2 separate regions of the Homo sapiens genome follow, and region 1 is linked to region 2. Evidence: promoter capture Hi-C in human tissues and cell types (Jung and others, 2019). All regions are on one chromosome and are shown on one strand. The core of a region is centred on a gene start or on the middle of the fragment in contact, and the rest is flanking DNA. Distances in the headings are between cores, read along the strand shown.

The links. Contacts are between HindIII fragments. The study calls those that stand out against the background at their distance.
Region 1: a fragment that was not itself captured here is called in contact with the fragment with the promoter of GDF6 in region 2 in 1 of the 25 tissues and cell types used here (heart right ventricle).

The regions. Positions count from the first base shown.
Region 1 is chr8:96,122,718-96,126,053 of GRCh38, reverse strand. No RefSeq gene overlaps it. Among named protein-coding and RNA genes, the nearest start is that of GDF6, 36 kb to the left of the region's middle. The HindIII fragment of the contact is 3,843 bases long and covers 1-3,336 here.
Region 2 is chr8:96,158,860-96,162,399 of GRCh38, reverse strand. GDF6 (growth differentiation factor 6) reads left to right here and starts at 1,594. Exons shown (of 2, transcript NM_001001557.4): 1 at 1,594-2,113. The coding sequence starts at 1,708. The HindIII fragment of the contact is 22,921 bases long and covers 1-3,540 here.

The DNA of each region.
Region 1 (3,336 bases), core at 369-2,868, 36 kb after region 2:
AGAGAGGCCACCCGCTCTGTTAAGGTGGCCCACATACTTTGCCTTCTTTTTGGGGGCAGACAGGAAGTGGGGAGAGAGAACTGCTTGATCTCTAAGCCTCTAAGGAGGACCCCCCTCCTCGTCTTTCCTTGCTCATTGCATCCCTAAAATATGGAAAGAAATGTATTACCAGCTAAAAACAGAATACAGTTTTTTTTTTCCCCAGAAGATGGAGGAATCAAAAGATGCCCCACCATCACTCCTTTGCAATTTCTCTTGTTTTTTTCCTAAGCTGGGACATTTTTTCTGCCTTAGTTTTCCTGTTCTGCCGCTCAGATTTCAGTTTTGTGTGAGATTTACTGCTCTTTGGAAAGATGAGGTTCTGTGAGTCAAAAACAAACAGAAAATGAAAAAAAAAAAAAACTATGCTAAAGCATGACTCAATTCTTGCTTTCATTCAATCAACTTTCACAAAGCATCTAGTACATGCCAAGCATTGATTTGGGGAGGGCACACACCCTGTCCTGCCTGCAGCATCTGGTCTTGCTGCCCTTTAGGTGGGAGTTGAGCCAGGTAGCAGCTAATGAATGGTGGGCCACCCTCTGGAGGGCAGGGATTAATTGTGGATGGAGGTGCTAAAGTGGCCAACCACGATTGCAAGGATAGAAAGCGTGTTGGAATCGCTTTCTGTGATCTTGTAACTCTTCAAATCCCTCTAGGAATATTGAAATTCCCAGTTTAAGGAAAACTGCCTTCACACAGTGGGATATAGCCACAGAAATGCATTTATATAGAATTTTTGCTGTTTATTCTAAAGAAGTAGGTCAAAACCAGGCAAAAACTCCCTTCCCTCTTCCACCTCCCTTTTCAGGGACATTTGGCAGGAGGCATTTTTGATTGTTGTGGTTGGGGGGACAGTGAAGGTGGCATCTAGCAGGTAGAGGTCAGGGAGGCTGCTAAACATCTTTCAATCCACAGACAGCCCCCCATAACCAAGAATTATCAGGCCCAAAGTGTCAACTGTGCTGAGGTTGGAAACCCCGTTCTAAAGGAAGAGACCTCTGACCCTTCCCCAATTGTGCAATGATAGTAATAATGCACATTTGACAAGCACTTACTGTGTGTCAGATGCTGTTCTTAGGGTTTTACTTGCAGTACTTCACTGATTTCTCATTATCAATGACAAAGGAAGTCTTATCATCATCCCCATTTTCCAGATGTGGAAAATGAGTCCCGGAGAGATTAAGTGTTTTGCTGCAAGTCTCCAAGCTAGAAAGCAACTGGGTCAGGATTTGAATCTCAGCAGCCTGTGGCCAAGTTCATATACACTTAACCTTATTTATAGGTTGCCTCTCTCCTGGACAACAAAGCTTGCTAAAGTTCATTGTTCTCAGTTGGAAGTATAGTTTTTTTTTTTTTTTTTTTTTTTTTTTTTTTTTTTTTTTGCTTGCGTGAACAGAGCAACCTAGAAGAGGGAGTAAAGGAGAAGGGACAATCTCAACAATTTGTCTTTGTCATGAGAATAATCAAAGTCCTCTTGTCTCTATTGCTGCACTGGAGTGGGTGGATCCTGGTGAACATGAAGGAAGAGATGCACCTGACCAGACAGGACCCGCATTAATGACAGGGCACACTGTTTCAGGCAAGCCGCTCCTCTGAAGCCACACACACCCTGCTCGCTGATCTCCCTGCAGTAGAAGGTTAAGTCTGCAGCATCAGCCAGCCCCGGAACCCTTTGAAATACCATGTCGGAAACTTCTTGGCAAAGCCTAACAATAGAAACCATAAGCAGATTCTAAATTACCATTATCATTAATCGGGGTTGACATGTAACTGGCCCCTCCTAAGTACTGCTCAATCACTGCCCCCCTTTATTCCTTTCTCCAAGGTTCCCACAGGCCTCCTTAGACTAAAGGGTACCTGAGCCGTGCCCCAGTGTGTGGTCCTCGGCAGAACAATGGAAGCAAAGTAATCCCTGACAGAGCCGGGCTGGGACCTTCGACATAAAGCAGATATGGGGCAATGTGAGAAAGGGCCATGGGGAGAAGCTCAGACAGGGAAGAAGACCGGGAGAGCAGCCAGGTATTAAGAGGCCGGGTAGGGGCAAGGAGAGCCAATAATACAGGGTGGGTGAAATGGAATGAACACGGTTTGTGTTCAGAGTTGGCATTTGTCACTTTAATGGATTCCAAAGAAGGAGGCAGGCATGCTTTCCAACTAGCCTGGGAAACCAGCTACATATGGGAGAAGAGTTTTTAAAAAGCCCTTCATTCAAGAAACCTATGTGTAAGCTATTGTTTTAGAGCATTTTTAAAATAACTGTTAATTATGCTTCAGATTTTTTTCACTTTTGCACCACACATGGGTTTTAGGAACTGCAAGAAGCCCAGACCATATCTTTAATCTGTCCATTCACATATTCAGCTATTTGGCAAATATTTATTGAGATCCTACTAAGTGCCAAGCACTGTTCATAGCACTGGGGATGCAGCCATGGACGAAATACGTATGGCCTGGCCCTCACAGAGACTGCATTTTAGAGGGGAGACAGAAATCAAAACAGTAAGCATAATAAACAAGTAAATGACTTCTTCTCATCAAAGGACACAATCAACACAATGGAAAGGCAATCTATGGAATCAGAGAAAATATTTGCAAATTGTATATCTGATAGGGGTTAATATCCAGAATACATAGAGAACTCCGACAACTCAACAATGTCAACAATAAAAACTTGATTTGAAAATAGGCAAAGGACATGAATAGACATTTCCCCAAAGAAGATATACAATTGGCCAATAAATACATGAAAAGATGCTCAACAGCACTAATTGTTAGGGAAATGCAAATAAAAGCCACAATGAGATATCACCTCACATCCATTAAGATGTCTACTATATTAAAAAACCAAAACTCCAGAAAATAACAAGTGTTGGTGAGGATGTGGAGAAATTGGAACCCTTCTGCAATATTGACAGGAATGTAAAATGGTGCAGCCACAATGGAAAACATCATGGCAGTTTCTCAAAAAACAAAAATAAAATTACCATATGACCCAGCAATTCTGCTTCTGAGTATATACCCAAGAGAACTGAAATCAGGATCTTAAAGAGAGATTTGTACACCCATGTTCATGGCAGCATTATTCACAACACCTGAAAGGTGGAAGCAACTCAAGTGTCCATCGAAGAATGAGTAGATAAGCAAAATGTGATATATACGTACAATGAAATTTTCTTCAGCCTTAAAGATAAAGGGAATTCTGATATATGCTACAACACGATGACCCTTGAGGACATTTATGCTGAGTGAAGGAAGACAGCCACAAAAAGACAATTCGACTTTATTTTTTTTTTA
Region 2 (3,540 bases), core at 345-2,844:
GGAACACACACAGAAAGTAGCATGGCGGAGAAAGAAGCCACCTGAGATCAAGTGAAACCATAAAGAGAAGAAAAAAGCCAGAACTGAAATAGAGAAGTTGGGCCAGGAATGACTGTCTATGCTGTAGTGGGAAGAATCTTGGGCTTGGGGTGGGAGCCTGGGTTCTGTCCCTTGCTGCATAACCTCTTGGCAGAGTGGCCTTGGAAAAGTCACTTATTTCCATTGAGTCTTTTTTTTTTCCATCCGTGAAGGTGAAAATAGTCAACGCCAACCTCACAAAGCTGTTGGCACGATTAAAGGAGGGTACTTTATGGTTGGTGCCTGAGCACCCAATCAGTACTGAGGGAAACTCTTCTGCCCATAGCAGTCCAGGGCAGAGCACTGTGGCAGACAGAAGCAGCGCTACGCCGCATCGCCTTTCAGCGTGCAGGCCCAGGAATGAGCGAGGCAGTGGGCGGGGAAGACAGGCACGGGGAATCTGGGGACAGATAAAGGAAACTCGTGATGGGGCGAGGCTGGGCTGAAGAGAAACAGATTGGGGTAGAGCTGCAAAGGGAGGGGTCCACTGGAAGGCGAGGGGGGAGGCCGGGAAGAGAGAGGGTGGGAAGGCAGTGTGAGATGGGAGGGCAGTGTGAGAAGAAAAGCAGGCTGGGGAAGAGGGATTGGAATGCAGAAGGAACTTGGGGAAGGAGGAAGTCCTGCAGGCGGGAGGGAAAGAAGAGAGGGAAAATGGGGATGCAGTGGAGGCGGGGGGCAGGCCGCGAGAGGGAGAGGATCCCGGGAGCAGACGAAGAAGTGGAGCAGCTAAAGTCTGCGTCAGAAGAGGTTGGGGACTGCGAGAGGAGAGGCTGGGGCCTGCAGGGGAGCGCAGCAGCTTTTAGCATCGATCCAAACTCTAAAGACTCGTGGCCTTTGCCTGACCTCGAGGGTCGGGAATAGACGCCTGTCTTTGTGGAGAGCGATACCCAACCGAGAAAATGGGGCTGTTCCGAGCTGGGCCCTGCGCCTGGCCCAGGGCGAGGCTTCTCTGGCTCCGGGCTGGCCCCTGAGGGGCGCAAACGGCAGGCCTGGCGGTTGGGGCCGAGGAGGGAGGGTACCACCGCCCCGAGGCAGCACGCAGCCTGCAGCAGAGGCGCCTGCTCCAAGCTGTCTCTTGGGGGCGCCGCCGCCGCTTCCCTCCTCCGGGGCCGCTCGCTCCCAGGAAAGTGGAGGCGGCTGGCGAGGACCGAGAGCCGGGGCCGCGCTGCGGAGGGACCACACCTCCGGGAGTTCGAGGGGGACCCTGGCGCGGCGGGCCAGCCTTTGCTCCCCGGCCACGGGCCGGCAGCGCCCGCCTTCCCCCGGTCAGCGCTTGCGGCCCGCGCCGCGCGCACCGCCCGGCAACCCCGCGCGCGTCCCGCGGGGGCGCTGCGTCTTCCTGCCACACCGGCGCACCGCGGCCCCTCTCCCCCACACCTCCGGCCCGCACCACCCGGCTCTCCTCCCACCCTCCCCACCCCTCCTCTGCCCTCCCTCCCCATTCCTCCCCTCCCGGCGAGGGGCGGGAGGGGGCGTGGCGGGGCCGGGGTTTGTGTGGCTGGGACCCGGCTCCTCGCACTCCGAGTCCGCCCGAGGAGCCGGGCCCCGGCCGCTGTCCAGCCGCTCCGTGCCCCGCGCGTCCTGCGCCGCCGCCACCGCCTCCTGGGGAGACGCAGCCACTTGCCCGCCATGGATACTCCCAGGGTCCTGCTCTCGGCCGTCTTCCTCATCAGTTTTCTGTGGGATTTGCCCGGTTTCCAGCAGGCTTCCATCTCATCCTCCTCGTCGTCCGCCGAGCTGGGTTCCACCAAGGGCATGCGAAGCCGCAAGGAAGGCAAGATGCAGCGGGCGCCGCGCGACAGTGACGCGGGCCGGGAGGGCCAGGAACCACAGCCGCGGCCTCAGGACGAACCCCGGGCTCAGCAGCCCCGGGCGCAGGAGCCGCCAGGCAGGGGTCCGCGCGTGGTGCCCCACGAGTACATGCTGTCAATCTACAGGACTTACTCCATCGCTGAGAAGCTGGGCATCAATGCCAGCTTTTTCCAGTCTTCCAAGTCGGCTAATACGATCACCAGCTTTGTAGACAGGGGACTAGGTAAGTGGCAAAGAAAACGCTCGACTCCCCTCCCGCTGGAGCTCGGCAGCCAGGGAGCTGTTCCCGCTGGAGGCTACATTTGTGAATTCCCTTCCTGCTCTGGACACTTCCTTTTTACTTTTCTTAAATTGTTTTTCTCAAGCTCGAGTAAGTTTCTGAATGTGGCTGCGGATTCTATTCCAGTCTCTAAACCTCCCTTCCTTTCCCCCCCTTTCTTTCTCTCTCCCTTCTTTCCTTCTTCCTCTTTTGCAGAAGGCAGCGTGGTTGCCGCTTGTTGGTGGCTGGTGGGGGAAACGTGGAGGACGGGAGGCAGCAGGCGGATGAACCCGGCTGGAGAGGGGTCGGGATGGGGACTGATGGAATCGGTGTCTCGGGATACTGGGTTCGCAGTCCAAGGCCTGAGCTGCTGGGGCAGATCTAGGGCATGAGACAGCCTTGGAAAGCCCTGGGCAAAGCCGGCACTAGGGAGTCCCACAGTCTGAGGAACTAGTCCGCGAGCGGCGTCGGGCAGCCCCCTGGTCCTGGCGCCGCGCGGGTTTTCCGTTGGTCCCTGCGCTGGGTGGGATGGTCAGCCGGGCTGGAGCCCTGCGCCCTCCGGCTTTTTTGCTCCAGCGTGGTGCTCCCGGCTGCTCCGAGGCCTCAACACGAGTGGTTTCTGCAGATGCGGCGGCAGCAGTTGGGCGGGCCGGGACAGGGACGGCTAAGTTCGGAGGTTGTGGGTACTTAATACACAAAGGTACATGGGTATGCCCATCCACCTTTCTCAGCCAGGCGACGTTCCTCTCTCTACGCTATTCCTGAGGGCTGGTGGGGGTCTGGGAAATCCCTGGTACCCTCTGTGGGAACGCCTGCATGTGTGGGTGTCTGCGGAAACCCTTGCGGCCCCTTCTTGCCACCGGCGTTGATCTGCAGCGTGGCCAGTGCCCTCAAGAAAACCTCGCACCACCTCTGGTCCCAGAAATCAGGGAAGGATCCACAGGCATCGGAAACTAAGCTCCTAAAGGAGAGAGACAATAATGTGGAAGGAGACAGGAAAGGAAGGGAGAAAAAGGAAAGGAAGAGTAAAGAGAAGGAAGGAAGAAAATGACGGGATAAAAGCGATTTAGGCAGATATCCACTCCTCCATCCTCCCTAGACTTAGCTCCATGACTTTGACCTGCTCCCAGTTAAGTGGGGTTGCCCGGAAACCTTGCAGCGCTGGGGTTCGGGATTCGGAAGCTGCTTCAGCCACTGCTACCCTGGGTGCTCGCACATCTCTTAAGCTTTTTAGAGCAGGCTAACGGCCCCCCCGCCCCCAGCCCCGAGCTCTTCCCCGGCTCCAGTCCCCGCCTCTCACTCATAGTCGCGTTCCTTGCTCGAGGGTCTCGCCGCTGCAGCCCGAGGTCAGCGAGGTTCATGAGCTGCTGAAAGGTCCAGAGGGCAAATTA